Linked DNA regions of Homo sapiens: region 2 is linked to region 1. The links are contacts of gene promoters, found by promoter capture Hi-C in human tissues and cell types (Jung and others, 2019). All regions are on one chromosome and are shown on one strand. Each heading gives the region's core, a stretch centred on a gene start or on the middle of the fragment in contact. The rest is flanking DNA. Distances are from core to core; before and after follow the strand shown.

Region 1 (4,561 bases), core at 1,351-3,850:
CCCAGGTCCACATTTTTTTGTTCCAGGCCCTTCTCCAGAAAGCTGAACATCGAATGTAGCTGGTTCTTCATTAAGGATCGCCTGGCATGGGCTCTTGAGACCTGTTCTGCAGACCTTTATTCTGTCTGCTGCTCCAAGGAGCTCTGTGACATGACCAATACATACATAGATATAGAGGATACATAGACAGGGCCCTTGCCAGCACAAGGTCTAGGGAAAGAGCAATGCTGGAGGTGTGGCAAGGTCTGTAGTGCACAGAGAAGGGAGCTGTCCTGCCCAGGGGCATTAGGAGAACCAGCCTTCACAGCCGAGGGGTGACTGAGCTGGGCATGGGAAGAGAAGTGGAGCTTGGCAAGCGAGAGGGGGAGAAAGGACTTTCCCAGCAGACGGACCCTGAGGCATGAAAGGGCACCGGGTTCCTAAAAAGGAAGGAAGTGTTTGAGGCAGGAGCCCAGGGGTGCCTGTGGCTGCTTTGTTGTTTCCCAGAGGGCAGGTGTGGAAGGCAGGCAGGAGGCAAAGCCAGGAAGATGGTGGGAGCGGAATCCTGGGTAACCAGGCTGCTCAGGGGAAGGTTGGACTTTATGCTGGGAATGTGGGAAGCCAGTGGAGCGTTTCAGGTCAAGGAGGTCACCATTGATTTGGGGGAAAAAAACAGTGTGTGTAGGAAAGCTGTCATGGAGGAGGGGAGACCGGGGTGGAAGATGGGGAGCTGGGATGCAGGAGGGGGAGGTTAGGGTAGAGGAGAGGTAAGTTAGGATGGAGGAGGAGAAGGCTGGGGAGGAGGAGGAGGATGGGGTAGAGGAAGGGGAAGACAGGGTGGAGGAAGAGGACCTGGGGTGGAGGAGGGAAAGGTGGGGTGGAGGGGGGAGAGCTGGGGTGGAGGAGGGGAGCTGGAATGGAGGAGGGAGAGGTTAGGGTGGAGGAAGGGAGACTAAGGTGGAGGAGGGAGAGTTTGGGTGGAGGAGGGGATGCTGGGGTGGAGGAGGGGATGCTGGGGTGGAGGAGGGGTGGCTGGGGAGGAGGAGGGAAGCCTGGGGTGGAGGAGAGAAACTAGAGACCAAGACACTAGTCAGAAGACCAAGGTAAGGAGAGGAGAATCTACCAGAGAAGAGTCATGATGGAAAAGAATGCCAGAGATTCAATAAACAAACTGAATTTATCTCTTGACAATTACCCTCTGAGCCCCCAAGCCAGAGCTGTCCTGCCTGGGAGGAGACAGTCCTAGGATAAATCCTGGAAGATGATGTGTGGCTTTGAGATAGCCGACTTAGGCAGTTTCTTCTGCTTTTAGTAACTGGTATCTGCAATACAGGCTCTCAGGGTTCTTTCTGAGTGAGACAACATTCAGCCTGTCTGCTTTACAGATGATACCCACACCTCTGCTACCCGGAAGATGAGCACGAGCATCTTGAAACAGGTGGACCAAATGCGACCGTCTCGGGGTCCCCAGGACTGTCCAGGTTTTAGCATTGAAAGTCCTGGGCAAATCAGGACAGCGGTCACTGACTATACAAATTTGCTGAGCTCCAGGGGCTCAGGGAGAGCTCAGCTTGTCACAAAACATTCAACTAATTCTACTCAACAAGATAAGCCTAAGAAGATGGACACTACGCTGTGAAAAGTGGCTACGGGTGGGAGGAAGGACAAAGATGTGACCCGGGACCTAATCCTCTGTAGATCTCATCGGACAGTGATTATACCAGAAGCTCAGAACTAAATGAACCACTTTGTCCCCAAACACATCACCCCACAGGTGCATTCCACCTCCCACATGTCCATCCTGTGTGCACACCCTGTGCCCGGTCACTTTGTCTGGGAAAGCATTCGCAAGGGAAGCGAAAAGGTTGGGACTTCTGCCGCCAGCGCAGACAGCAGGAGATGCACAGATAGACACACTCAAATGAGGGCTCTCAGGGCATTGTAAATGGGGTGGCCCTTTATCCTACAAATCACCCCGTTTTCATGGTCTATGTGTACACACACACACACTTTAAAATAGTGCAGTTTGGGATCAGAAAAAAAAGGCAAAAATGGCAATGTCACATCTGGTCGTCTTACAACAATATCAGCAGGCTGTCTCAAATCTGCCACAGCCTGAACTGAACCTGCCTCTCCCGAGTAACAGGTTGTTTTCACCTCCCGCAGACCATCAGCGCTGGCTTCAGATTCTCCACTACAGGCAGGGCACACGAAAACCTAATTATTATAGCCATCAATATCGACACACACAGCAAAGAAGTCACTTAATAAAATCGAGCAGCACAAATCGACCCAAAGGGGTGCTCTCCACTCCTGCCCCTCTTGTCCTCGGACGCTTCGCAGATGCGGTCCCCCGCCCTCCTCCCAGGGTCCAGGTGAGGGGCCAGGGTTACCTTTTGGAGAAATGCCATCCTCGGCCTGTACTGCTGGCCTTGGTGTCGGATTGTCATCCTGGCCCCTGGATGGATTCACAGCCAGAGCACCAGTGGGAGACAAGAGGAGAAGCCCCCCAAGTTCGAAAGGCAGCCTGGCTCGCCCCAGCCCTGGGCGTCGACGGGGAGGCGGCTGGGCGGGGAGGGCGCGGGCCGGGCCCCCCTGACTCTCACTAGGCGCCGCTGACTTGGAAAGCAGCTGGAATCCGCGCCAGCCAATCCGCGAGCGGCGCCGCGGGCTCATTAGCATGCGCTGCGCGGGCGCCCACCTGCCGCCAGGGGGCGCTATCCGGCCCCCGCCGGGACCCCGCGGAGCAGCAGGTGAGACCCGCAGGGCAGGGCCCCGGGAGGAGAAGGAGGAGGAGGACCTGGCGGGAGGAGGAGGAGGACCTAGCGGGAGGAGGAGGAGGACCTGTCGAGAGCAGCGAGCCTTTTAACTTGGGGCGGAGTTATGCACAGAAGTGACACAAAGAGCCCTCACTAATACAGCGCGGTGGAAAATACGGACTTTCCCATCCCAGCTCTGCCACTAACCAGCCGGCAGCCTTGGGCAAGTTCCTTACAATCTCTAAGAATCAATGTCCTTCACTCAAAAGTAAAAATTGAAAAATGGGATCATAATATCGACCAGAAAAGGTTGCTATACCATTTTAATGAGGAGATGTGTAACACAGTGCTTGGCCCTCAATAAATGCTTAGAAAAAAAAATTAGAGGTGGCGATTTAATGACCCAATAGCAGAGGAATTGCTAAGATGTGGGTTTAAAAAGAGAGAGCAAAGAAGTGAAGAAGGAAGAGAGGAAGGTTGTAGTCCTCACCGGGCTAGCTGTCTGGATGAAGCGAATTATATTTTACTTCTCTGATTCTTAGTGTTTCGGTTAGTTGGTTGTTGGGTTTGTTGTTGTTTAACTTTTTTTTTGAGACAGGGTCTTGCTCTGTCACCCAGGCTGGAGTGCAGTGGCGTAATCATGGCTCATTGCAGCTACAACCTCCCAGGCTCAAACAATCCTCCCACCTCAGCCTCCCCAGTAGCTGGGGCTACAGGCACGTGCCACCACACCCCGCTAATTTTTACAAAAATTGTTTGTGGAGAGGGAGTTTCACAAACTCCTGGGCTCAATCGATCTACCCACCTCGGCCTCCCAAAGTGCTGGAATTACAGGAGTGAGCCACTGCAGCTGGCTGGTTTGCTTGTTTTAATAGACTTTATTTCTTAGAGCAGTTTTAGGTTCACAGCACAATTGAGCGGAAGGTATAGGGACACGTCATATATCCCCTCTCCCCACGCACGCACAGCGTCCCCCATGATCAACATCCTCCACTGGAGTGGCCCATTTGTTACAATTGATGAACCTACCTTGACAGCTCATTATGTTAGCGTTTTCATCTTGAGAAAAATGCAAGGATGAAGCCTCTAAGTTATTATCAAGAGCCTTTCTGCTTTGTTATATAAAGCACTTTCTCTTAAACATACTCGATGGTTATTGAGTGTAGCAGATAAAATGTTTAAGTTGGAAGAAAACAAGAAGGCCTTTACCTTAGGAAGGCACAGTCAACCAATGTCCCTTTAAAGCAGTGGTTCTTGGCTGGGTGTGATGGCTCACGCCTATAATTCCAGCACTTTGGGAGGCCCAAGCGGGTGAATCACTTGAAGTCAGGAGTTCAAGACCAGCCTGGCCAACATGGCAAAACCCTATCTCTATTAAAAATACAGAAATCAATCAGCATGGTGGAGCAACCTGTAATCCCAGCTACTCAGGAGGCTGAGGCACAAGAATCACTTGAACCCAGAGGCTGCAGTGAGCCAAGACTGAGCCACTGCATTCCAGCCTGGGTGACAGAGTGAGACTCTGTCTCAAAAAAAAAAAAAAGCAGTGGTTCTTATCCATTCTCTCGGGTGATATTTACCTGTAAGAATCTGATGAAAGCTATGGACACTCAGGAACACACACACATGCACATGTACACAACACTGACTGAAGTTTGCAAACAATTTCAAGAGGTTCATGCTTGGGCCTCTCTTGTGCCTTTTCAGGAATCCCTGATTCAGAGCCTCCAATTTAGAGGACGCTGGACCCTGCAGAGATCCATCCAAGCAGAAGACCAGAGATCCTGCCAAGCAAATTGAACCACTGAGAAGTATGCTCCTGG
Region 2 (4,593 bases), core at 113-2,612, 150 kb after region 1:
ATTTACTTTTCAGAAATTGATTTTCAGGTAAATTTCTCTGAATGCATCTAATCTGTAGAGCAACATATATATGTATTTTTTTTACATTTTTGTTTTATTATTTTTTAATTTTAATTTTTTTTTGAGACTGGGTCTCACTTTGTCGTCCAGGCTGGAGTGCAGTGGTGTGACCATGGCTCACTGCAGCCTGGATCTCCTGGCTCCTGGGCTCAAGTGATCCTCCCACCTCAGCCTCCCGCCCTGAGGAATGTGCCACTATGCTTGGCTAGTTTTCTTGTATTTTTTTTAGTAGAGAGGGGTTTCTCCCATGTTGTCCAGGTTGGTCTCAAATTCCTGGGCTCACGTGATCCACCTGCCTCAGCCTCCCAAAGTGCTGGGATAACAGGCATGAGCCATCGTGCCCGAGGGCTTGTGTTTGACCAGACATCACTCTCCATGAGTCATCCAGCACTGTGCCTTGCATGGGGACATATTTGCTATTTGTGTGGTTTGTGTCTTTTTGGCATACAGAATTACCTTTCTTTCCTTCTTGAAACTGTGGATAGGTTATATGAGCAATCATGAGGTCACCACCACCTCCACCAATTTGGAAATAGGGAACTAGTATTTCCCTTGGAGAGTGGGTGGCCAGGTTTTACAAATAAAAATACAGGGTGCTTAGTTAACTAGAATTTCAAATGAACAACCAATCACTTTTAATGTAAATATATCCCATGAAATTTATGGGACATGCTTATACTAAAAAATTACTCATTGTTCATCTGAAATTCCGATGTGACTGAGAATCCTGTATTGTTTTGGCAATTACAAAACGGTAAAACTGTAAAACCAATGCATATGGATTAGAAGAAATATAAAGTTCTAATGTAAAGAAATGTAAAGTTACCTTAAGAGATCAGAATGAGTTCTTTAGCAAGATTTGGTTACAACTGAAGTTTGTAAAAAAAAAAAAAAAAAAGGTATATTTATAAAAACACTTCTAACCTCTTGTAAGGTACCTTAAGAACATGTCAATCAGAAAGGGGGTTAGGGCCGGGCGTGATGTCTCACGCCTATAATCCCAGTGCTTTGAGAGGCCAAGGTTGGAGGATCACTTGAGCCCAGGAGTATGAGAGCAGCCTGGGCAACATAATGAGACCCCATCTCTACAAAAAAATAAAAATTATCTGGGTGTGGTGGCCTACGTCTGTAGTCCCAGCTACTCAGGAGGCTAAAGCAGGAGGATTGCTTGAGTTTGGGACTTTGAGGCTACAATAAGCTGTGATCATGCCACTGCACTTGAGCCTGGGTGACAGAGCAAGACCCTATCTCAAAAAAAAAAAAAAAGGTGAGGAGATTGATCAACAATACAAAATGAAGGGTCAAAGAGAAAAACTTTGGGCTCGGTGTGGTGGTTCATGCCTATAATCCCAGCACTTTGGGAGGCTGAGGTGGGTGGATCGCTTGAAGCCAGGAGTTTGAGACCAGCCTGGCCAACATGGAGAAACCCCATCTCTACTAAAAACACAAAAATTAGCTGGGTGTGGTGGCACATGCCTGTAATCCCAGCTACTCGGGAGGCTGAGGCACAAGAAATTTATTGAACCCAGGGAGCGGAGGTTGCAGTGAGCTGAGATCGCACCATTGCACTCCAGCCAGAGCAAGACTCTGTCTCAAAAAAAAGAGAGACAAACTTTGGTCATTCTCCTGAATGCCATCTGGAAGCATCAACTTCCAGGCTGAGATGGCTTGGATCTTATTGTGGAGATGCACTTGCCAAGTGTCTTAGTCAGCTTGGGCTGCTACCACAGAGTATCATAGGCTGGGTGGATTACACAACAAGCATTCATCACTCACAGCAGAGGCTAGGAAGTCCAAAGTCAAGTGCAAGTATAGTTGGGTTCTGGGGAGGGCTCTCTTCCTGGTCCTGAGATGACCAACTTCATGTTGTGTCCTCACACGGCTGGGAGAGAGAAAGAGGATGCACCAAACTTTGAGGGGTAGGGACCATTAGGGTCATCAACTAATTACCCATGTTTACCAAGAAAGCTTGTTATAAATTGGCTTCCCGGCCGGGCGTGGTGGCTCATGCCTGTAATCCCAGCACTTCGGGAGGCCAACGTGGGTGGATCACCTGAGGTCAGGAGTTCGAGACCACCCTGGCCAACATGGAGAAACCCCGTCTCTACTAAAAATACAGAAATTAACTGGGTGTGGTGATGGGCACTTATAATGCTAGCTACTTGGGAGGCTAAGGCAGGAGAAGCACTTGAACCCAGGAGGCAGAGGTTGCAGTGAGCTGAGACTGCACCACTGCACTCCAGCCTGGGTGGCAAGAGTGAAACTCTGTCTCAAAAAAAAACCAAAAAGGAATTGTCTTCCCGTGCCTCCCGGGAGTGAAGGTACTATCTATGAACCTATGTCCCCAGCCCTCTGAAGGTGACGATTCAATACAAAGCCATTGGGGTTTTTCTACATCATTGTCTCTATGAGCTTGGATGATATGAGGCTGATCCATTCTTTGATTCTTTTTTTTTTTTTTTGAGACAGGATCTTGCTCTGTTGCCCAGGCTGGAGTGCAGTGGCATGATCTTGGCTTACCGCAGCCTCGTTCTCCTGGGCCAGGTGATCCTCCCACTTCAGCCTCCTAAGTAGCTGGGACCACAGGTGCATGCCACCACACCTGCTTAAGCTGATCCATTCTTGCTGTGCTGGGTCACCCCCAGGTGACACTCAATGTCAGTTAGTTGTGTTTTATTCCAACAACTACACTTTGTTTTTCTGGATCGCTGCTACAGCAAATGGCAGATTCCATTTCTTCAGGATATAAATGCACAATAAGAACAAGTAGCGACCAGGCTCAGTGGCTCACACTTGTAATCCCAGCACTTTGGGAGGCCAAGGTAGGCAGATCACCTGAGGTCAGGAGTTTGAGACCAGCCTGACCACATGGAAAAACCCTGTCTCTACTAAAAATACAAAATTAACTGGGCATGGTGGTGCACTTTGGGAGGCTGAGGGGGGTGGATCACTGGAGTCCAGGAACTCAAGACCAGACTGGGCAACATAGCAAGACTCCATCTCTAAAAAAAAAAATTAAGATTAACCAGGGTGTGGTGGCATATGCCTGTAGTCCCAGCTACGTGGAGGCTGGGGTGAAAGGATTGCCTGAACCCAGGAGGTCAAGGCGGCAGTGAGCTGTGAGAGCACAGCCTGGGCAACAGAATGTCACCTTGTCTCTAAAAAAACACAAAAACCAAAACAAAACAACTCACTGCATTATTTTAAAAAAAACATATGTATCTTATGGGCCGGGTGCGGTGGCTCATGCCTGTAATCCCAGCACTTTGGGAGGCCGAGGTGGGAGGACTGCTTGAGCTCAGGAATTCAAGGCCAGCCTGGATAATATAGTGAGACATCTATACTACAATTCAAAACAAGAATAAAAAAATTAGCTCGGCATGGTGGCACACACCTATAGTCTTAGCTGCTCAGAGGGCTGAGGTGGAAAGAATGCTTGAGCCCAGGAGGTCAAGGATAAAGTGAGCCCTGATTGTGCCACTGCACTTCACAGAGTGAAGAGTGGGTGACAGAGTGAGACCCTGTCTCAAAAAAAAAAAAATAGCTAGGTAGATAGATGTATCTGCAAATGATTCTTAGGAGCAGCCCAGGCCTAGAGAGTTAAACCACCCATAGTGACTCACATCAACAGGCTCTTTTGTCAGAGGGCATTTCCATAATTAGAACTTGTGACCAACAAGTCCAGCCACGAGGATATATCACAAGTACTTGTCTCCAGCGCTGGTTTCTTAGCAAAAAAAGAACCTGTTAAATGTCAGGGCTTTGTGTTTTTGCCTTTGGGCTTTTGCCATGCCTGGTTATTGGGCACCTTCTGGTAATAAACAGTTAGTTGAAAGGAGCTGTTCCCATGTCTTATTTAATTCTCTCATTAAGCCTGTGGGCCAGAGGTTCTTATTGTTCATACCCCTGGATAAACACACTGAGTCCCAGGGAGGTAAAGTGCCTTGGCCGAGTGCCACCCAGGAGCTGGTGGTGCCTCAGCTGAACCCAAGTCCACGGACCGTGGAGTTCGCGCCCTCTCACTGTGGCACACGGGCCTGAGCCTCAGGAACACTGCAAAGTAGGTTGGCTTCCCCCTTACGGAGCCCCTACCCGGGACAGCCTCAATCCCTCAGGGCCCCTCTGTGCCCAGGTGCCTGCTTGGCTGACTGGGCAGCCTGGAGAGAACAGTGACCCAGAAATGCAAGAGGAGAGTTTCCAGGAGGACAGAACACTGGTGCTATCAGGTGCCAGGAGCAGCGTGTGCCACGCATGGCCCTGCTCTGCTGTGGCTTTGTGTTTTTGGTACATGCTGTGCCCTCAGCCTGGGCTGCCCTGGACTGGCCGTCCCTACCCCTCCAAGACTTAGCCCAAAATCATACTTTTTTTTTTTTTTTTTGAGATAGGGTCTCACTCGGTCCACCAGGCTGGAATGCAGTGGCACAATCTCGGCTCACTACAACCTCCACCTCCCAGGTTCAAGAAATTATCCTGCCTCAGACTCCCGAGTAGCTGGGATTATAGGTGCCCGCCACCATGCCTGGCTGATTTTTG

The links. The method cuts DNA at HindIII sites, captures the fragments that hold promoters and counts their contacts. A contact is called where the count stands out against the background at its distance.
Region 2: a fragment that was not itself captured here is called in contact with the fragment with the promoter of RGS9 in region 1 in 3 of the 25 tissues and cell types used here (adrenal gland, hippocampus and liver).

What each region holds. Positions count from the first base shown.
Region 1 is chr17:65,135,409-65,139,969 of GRCh38, reverse strand. RGS9 (regulator of G protein signaling 9) reads right to left here and starts at 2,600. Exons shown (of 19, transcript NM_003835.4): 1 at 2,373-2,600. The coding sequence starts at 2,429. RefSeq lists a silencer at 2,411-2,910. The HindIII fragment of the contact is 16,688 bases long and covers 1-4,561 here.
Region 2 is chr17:64,988,381-64,992,973 of GRCh38, reverse strand. No RefSeq gene overlaps it. Among named protein-coding and RNA genes, the nearest start is that of GNA13, 66 kb to the left of the region's middle. The HindIII fragment of the contact is 5,935 bases long and covers 1-4,329 here.